Linked DNA regions of Homo sapiens: region 2 is linked to region 1. The links are contacts of gene promoters, found by promoter capture Hi-C in blood cells and fetal thymus (Javierre and others, 2016). All regions are on one chromosome and are shown on one strand. The core of a region is centred on a gene start or on the middle of the fragment in contact, and the rest is flanking DNA. Distances in the headings are between cores, read along the strand shown.

What was found. The method cuts DNA at HindIII sites, captures the fragments that hold promoters and counts their contacts. A CHiCAGO score of 5 or more calls a contact.
Region 2: a contact is called between a fragment that was not itself captured here and the fragment with the promoter of NPHP3-AS1 in region 1, in 1 of 17 cell types (total CD4 T cells). The highest score is 5.4, in total CD4 T cells.

What each region holds. Positions count from the first base shown.
Region 1 is chr3:132,719,958-132,722,999 of GRCh38, reverse strand. NPHP3-AS1 (NPHP3 antisense RNA 1) reads right to left here and starts at 1,250. Exons shown (of 11, transcript NR_002811.2): 1 at 621-1,250. NPHP3 (nephrocystin 3) reads left to right here and starts at 591. Exons shown (of 27, transcript NM_153240.5): 1 at 591-1,037. The coding sequence starts at 645. NPHP3-ACAD11 (NPHP3-ACAD11 readthrough (NMD candidate)) reads left to right here and starts at 541. Exons shown (of 45, transcript NR_037804.1): 1 at 541-1,037. RefSeq lists silencers at 75-584, 685-934. The HindIII fragment of the contact is 4,122 bases long and covers 1-2,945 here.
Region 2 is chr3:139,343,106-139,346,716 of GRCh38, reverse strand. It overlaps MRPS22 (mitochondrial ribosomal protein S22), which reads right to left and starts at 2,697. Exons shown (of 8, transcript NM_020191.4): 1 at 2,519-2,697. The coding sequence starts at 2,690. RefSeq lists enhancers at 2,090-2,209, 2,220-2,319, 2,296-2,590, 2,550-2,639. The HindIII fragment of the contact is 595 bases long and covers 1,482-2,076 here.

The DNA.
Region 1 (3,042 bases), core at 1-2,500:
GGTCCACTGCTGGTCCTGCACAGTCGCCACTCCCCCCATCCTTCCTGCTAGCCCCGCCCTTCTTGCTAGCCCGCCTGGCCCTGTGTGCTTTCTCGACCCACCCCCGTTTGCCCTGCCCCGCCCACATGCCCCGCCCCACTTGCCCGGCCCCTCTTGTTGTCCCGCCTAGCCCTGCTGCCCCGCCCCGTCCCCCTCGCCCATCCCCCCAGTTCCGCTGCCCCGTCCCGTTCCGCTGCCCCGCCCCTCCAGTTGCCCCACCCCCTTCCGCTCTCCCTCCCCGCCCCGTTCCGCTGCCTCGCCTCGTCCGGCTCTCCGGCCCCGCCCCGCCCCGTTCCGCTGCCCCGCCCCGTCCTGCTCCCCCGCCCCGTCCTGCACCCCCGCCCCGCCCAGTTCTGCTGCCCCGCCCCTCCTGTTTCCCCGCCCCATCCCGCTCCCCCGCCTCGCCCCGTTCCGCTGCTCCGCCCCGTCCCGCTGCTCCGCCCAGTCCTGCTCTCCGGCCCCGCTCCATCCCGCTGGCCCGCCCCGTCCCGTTCCGTTCCTCTGCCCCGCCCCGTCCCGTTCCGTTCCTCTGCCCCACCCCGTCCCGTTCCGTTCCGCTGCCCAGTCCTGCTGGTACTCACTAGGTAGTAGCGGCAACGGACGCCATGGGGACCGCCTCGTCGCTCGTGAGCCCCGCGGGCGGGGAAGTGATCGAGGACACGTACGGGGCGGGCGGCGGCGAGGCCTGCGAGATCCCGGTGGAGGTGAAGCCCAAGGCCCGCCTGCTGCGCAACTCGTTCCGCCGAGGCGCGGGGGCGGCAGCAGGGGCCGGGCCCGGGTCGCTGCCCCGCGGGGTGGGCGCGGGCGGGCTGCTGGGGGCCAGCTTCAAGTCCACTGGCTCGTCGGTGCCAGAGCTGGAGTACGCGGCGGCCGAGTACGAGCGGCTCAGGAAGGAGTACGAGATCTTTCGCGTCAGCAAGAACCAGGAGTTGTTGTCCATGGGCCGCCGCGAGGCCAAGCTGGACACGGAGAACAAGCGGCTGCGGGCCGAACTGCAGGTAACGCCGGGCTGGGCCGCGACGCCGGGAGACCCTTGGGAAGCACGGCCGTCCTGCTCCCTCTCCAAACCAAGCGGCTTTGAAAGTTCGGCGGAAACTGCCCATTTTAATTTGAGAGGCCATATTCTCTTCGAGTCTGAAATGATTCCTTAACCCTCCCCTTTTTCTGTCTCTTTTTTTGGAGACAGGGTCTCGCTGCGGTGGCACGATCGCGGCTCACTGCAACCTGGAACTCCTGGGCTCAATGATCCTCCCGCCTCGGCCTCCTAAAGTTCTGGGATTACAGGAGTGAGCCACCGCGCCTGGTCCCCGCTTTTCTATTTCTGGTTTATTCATTGAGGCACCTAGAAGAAATTAGCCGGAAAGTGTCCTGAGGAGGCAAATGCCAATCTCCAGCTCCACTGCCGCCCCCGCGCCCACCCCCTCAGAAGGCTGGTGACATCTGTTGAAGCAACTCAGCAAACTCTTCCTAGGAGTTTCACCCCCCTCCCCACCATAAAAATTTTAAGTGGGTCTCCAAAGTGGGGCTCAAGTGTCGGTTTCTTTGTAAAGTTTCATCGCTCTTGCATTTTAATGGTCTTGACATGAAAATTTCTGGAAGCCTCCTGATCTCACCATGGTTGAAAACCTTCTCTAGATGTAGTCAAATTTCCCTAGTCCATTTGATTAATTTACGCTAAAAGCAATTATTGCATGCCCTCCATGTAGCAGGTCCATTATAATTCAATAAAATAGTATGTAAAGCAGCCGGGCGTGGTGGCTCACGCCTGTAATCCCAACACTTTTCGAGGCCTAGGCGGACGGATCACCTGAGGTCAGGAGTTCGAGATCAGCCTGGCCAACATGGTGAAACCCCGTCTCTACTAAAAATACAAAAATTAGCCGGGCATGGTGGCACGCGCCTGTAATCCCAGCTACTCAGGAGGCTGAGGCAAGAGAATTGCTTGAACCCGGGAGGCGGAGGTTGCAGTGAGCCGAGATTGCACCATTGCACTCCAGCTTGGGTGACAGAGCGAGACTCCGTATCAAAAAAAAAAAAATAGTATAAAGCAAGAGGTTGCTTTTCTGTGAACGAATCTCTAAAACTTTTTGCCCTCAGTTTGGGGCCCCTCTGGTCGTTGTTGTGTCGTTTGTGTACTCTTTACTGTGGGAGAGACTTATAGGCAGCCTAAGAGTTCCCGGAGTCGTTACAGTCGGGGTGAAATAAATACCTCAGACTGATTTTTCTAAAAGAAAAAAAGCCTCCTGTCTTCAAGACTAGACATTCTTCTAGTCAGGTTTTGTTGTTGTTGTTGTTGTTGTTTTTGTTTTTAAACTCCCTCATTAGCTGTTGTGTAATTATTGTCGTTGTCTGGGAAGAAGTCCGTGTAGCAGTTTATCTGTTGTCTTATCAGTTTTCCTACTGGGCAACCTTAATGCACTTGCATGTATAAAATGGACTAGTGCATTTCAAATATCTGATTCAATGTATCCAAGCCACTGCCCAACAGACACCGCACGTTGGAAACAACTGTGAGGTGGGGGTAGAAAAGGCCAAACCAAACAGGGCGGAGTGCAATAAGGGTTGGCAAGTGTCACAGTCACTCATGTCACCAATCCTGATTCCCTGTGAAACATACTGGTTCCTTTCTCACATATCGAGGCATGAAAAAACTTATCCATATTTATTTCATTCATTGTGTCAGACATTTACTGGAGACTTGCAGTGTACCAGGCACTGTGAAGTGCTCAAGGGATGGTGAGATGAATAAGACATAGTGCCAACAGGCACACAGTCTCTTAGAACTACTTATCCTTCAAGTTAAGCCTTACAAAATGTAATTTTTACTATCACAAAGATGGAAAAGGCATAAGGAAGTTTAAGAGCTGATGCAGTGTTTCAAAAAAAGTTAATTTCCATTGAAAGCTTAATGTTGGTCTTTATTTGTGGTAGTTCAAGCATGGTTGCGGTTTTTTTCCATCATGTTTTGAATAAAATGGCAACATGAAGTTCCTGATAATTGGT
Region 2 (3,611 bases), core at 530-3,029, 6.6 Mb before region 1:
AGATTTACTGAGCACTCATTATGATGAGGAGATAGACTCGGTCTCTGCCAAAAGGACAGACTACTAGAGGAAGTAACAGTAATAAAGTAATTAATGTAATAACTGTAATGGTTGCTGCCACTTACAGAGCTGTCTCCTATATGGCAGGTATAACACACATTTTCAGGAATGCTTATAACCACTCACAAAATAGGTACTGATAAACCCAATTTTATAAATGAGGATGCTGAAGCCTATCCAAAGACAACTAGCTATTAAGTGATAGAGTCAAAATTTAAACCAAGGTTTGTCTGGTTCTGGATCCTAGATGGTTTCCAATTTATCATAGCGCTCCTCGGTATAAGTGGGAGGTGTGGGGAGACATAATGTGAGAGGTATGGTATACAGGAGAGGTACGGGGCTTGGGTGATTGCAGAGGAAGAAACTAAGCATAGCCTGGACTAGGGATGGGCATGACAGGGTCAAAGAAAGCGTCCCAAGAGCCTCATCACGGCAGAGAAAAAAGGGAGGGAAAGTCTAGGCTAAGAGATTGCAGCTAGGAAAGAGGCTTGGTTCACTGGACATGATACTGAAGAGGCCGTGTGTTATCATGGAAGAGCCTTTGACATAAGCAGAGAATCAAATCTTAGCTCAGCCTCATGCAGTTTGCTTATTGCTTTGCCTAACTTCTACTTCCATTTCCATTAGCAAAAAAGAAAGAAAAAGCCATTTGTTCCTAGTCACCTCTTCTTCTCCTATAAATGTTGGTATCCCTACAGATTCTGAACGATGTCCTTTTCTCCCTTCTCAGATTCTTACTCGATGATTTCTCCTATCCTGCCACGACTTCAATTACCTTTATATGCCAGAAACTCTAAAATCTGAATCTCCTGCCAAGATCACCTTCCATCCAATTACTCAACCTCTCTCATGTACTTGAATACTGCCAAGTCAGAACCCATCAACTTTCCCTTGTCTCAAACCTGCATTTTCTGTTCCCTATCTCAGCATCATCCAGTAGGCCATACAGGCCAGAAATCTTACAGCCATTCCTAAATTCTCCCTGATCCTCCAGATCTAGCCAATAGCAGTAGTAATAACAACAACAGTAATCAAATAGCTGTAGTAATAATAACAGTAATTATAAGAGCTACCATTTATTAGCTATTTACTACATGCCAATACTGACTGAGCTAAGTACTTTACACATTCAGCCCATTTAATACTCACAACAACCCATGAGGTAAACACGAAGATTATCCCAATTTTACAAAAAAAAAAAAAAAACAAAAAAAAAAACACCACTGGCAGAGAACATACTGATTGTTTGCCTTCATAAATCTCATTTTAATCCTCCATTTCCCACTGCCACTACTCTAGTCAAGGCTATCCTCATCTCTTGCATCAGCCTCCCTTTCTCCATTCTGGCCCCACTACAGATCATTCTCCACAGAGCAACCAGAGTAATCTCTTTAAAATGTAATCAAGATTACTCCCAAGCTTAAAATTCACGAATGGCTTCCAACCTCATTTAGAAAAAAAGTTAAGGTGGTCTGCTTACCTACACTATGTCTCTCACTAAGTGATGTGCTCTATGAAGACCAGACCTTGTCTTATACTCATCTCTGGCACCCAGGGTTCCTCAGGGTATCCAGCACACAGCAAGTGCTCAGCACTACTCTCTCCTCAGTCTCACCCATTCACTCACCTTTAGTTACCATTTTTACTCCGATGTTCCTCACTTTATATTTAACTCCATACTAAACAGTTGACTCTTAAAGTCACCTCAAATTTAATGTGTCCCAAATAGGTTTAATTCCGCCTCCTTTCCCATCTCCTGATCTCATCTACTCCTGCACTACCCCCGCCCCCAAAATAACGGTTCCAACAATTAATTAATCTTCTTCATCTTGGTGTAAATGGGACAACCCTCTATTCCAATCAAAAACTTAAGAAACAATCTTAATTTGTCCCTTTAAACTCATATCCAAAGCCTTAATCAAGCCTTATCAATCCTACCTCCAAAATGGGTTCCCAAATATCTGTGCTCAGTCTCATTTCTGGACATCTGCTACTGTCCCCTATGCTTGAGAAGCTTCTTGCTTTCTCCTTAGCATGGCTAACCAGATCTCAGCTTTGGTCATATTTGCCAGGAACCCTTCCCTGACCTTCCAACCTAGTTTGAGTGCCTCTCCTGTGTGCGTCCCCTATAACAACCCGGGTCACACTGCACTGCCAATTCCCCATGGACATGAGTTCCCACAGGGAAATGTCTGTGTCAGTCTTAGTTTGCCATATCCCACAGAGCTTAGCACAGTGCTCTGCACGGAGCGGAACTCAGGCACTGTAGTTGAGTGAGTGAACGAATGAACAGATATGCAGGTGATGACAAACTCTACAGGTACAGAAGGAAGACAGCTGAATCTGAGGAAGCGCTAGGATACGTGTCGCGGGGGCTATCGCGTGGTTTTCGCCTGCCAGAAACAGGATCTACGTCTCCCAGAAGAACGCCCCAGCGAAAGTCCGGAAGGTCACTTACCGGCCTCGGAGCTGAACCGGCGGCGTGGCAGCCCCATCTCGAAAGAGCAAGGTAGCGGTTGGAGCAGGCCACCGTGCCAGGGCTGGATTCGAGCCCGGAAACAGACCCGTTCCACGCCCGGAGAACTCCTCAAGAGGCTCCACAGCAATACAGTTGTTCCGAGGGGCGCCATGATTATCAGAAGCCACTTGCGCCGGAAGTGGTTGGGAGGGATTCCGAGTCACACCCAGTTCTTGCAGCACTCTGGGAAATGTAGTCTAGTTAAAGGCGGAAAGGGCCGGAAGTCTTCCGGGCCCTTATAGATTGTTTCTTCTAAACTACTTATTCACAAGTAGACGGTGTTTATGTCCTTCCCTATGCATAAAGTTAAAACTTACACCTTTTTCCCTATATGCTCTTTTTCCTACCCGTTTCCATCGTTCTAAATAACAAATTTCCGGCCAGGCGCCGTGGCTCACGCCTGTAATCCCAGCAGTCTGGGAGGCCAAGGCGGGCGGATCACCTGAGGTCAGGAGTTCGAGATTAGCCTGGCCAACATGGTGAAACCCCCGTCTCTACTAAAAATATAAAAATTAGCCAAGCATGGTGGCGGGCGCCTGTACCAGGAGAATCGCTTGAACCGAGGAGGCAAAGGTTGCATTGAGCCAAGATCGTGCCATTGCACTCCAGCCTGAGCAACAAAGCAAGACTCCATCTCAAATAAACAAACAAACAAACACTCTAGCCTGGGTGACAGAGTGAGACTCTTGTCTCAAATAAATACATAATTTATGTATTCCACTTCCTGCCCAAACCTTCTCCCCCATCCTCAGGTTTAAATCCAACTACTTCTTAAATTTCTCCATCCACACTGCTCACATGCACCCTAAATCTAACTCCTGACTCCAAGCCCTGATTACCACCACCACCACTGCCACTGCCAATTCATACACCTGATTCTCTGTCTCAACACTTATTCCTTTCCTTTATAGCCCATTTTATAATCTGTTATTTTGCTCTTTATCTGCTTATTTCTTTTTCTCACCCCATGAACACAGTGACTCTACATATTTTATTGCAATATCACCTAGCCTAGTACATCTACGTGCACAGC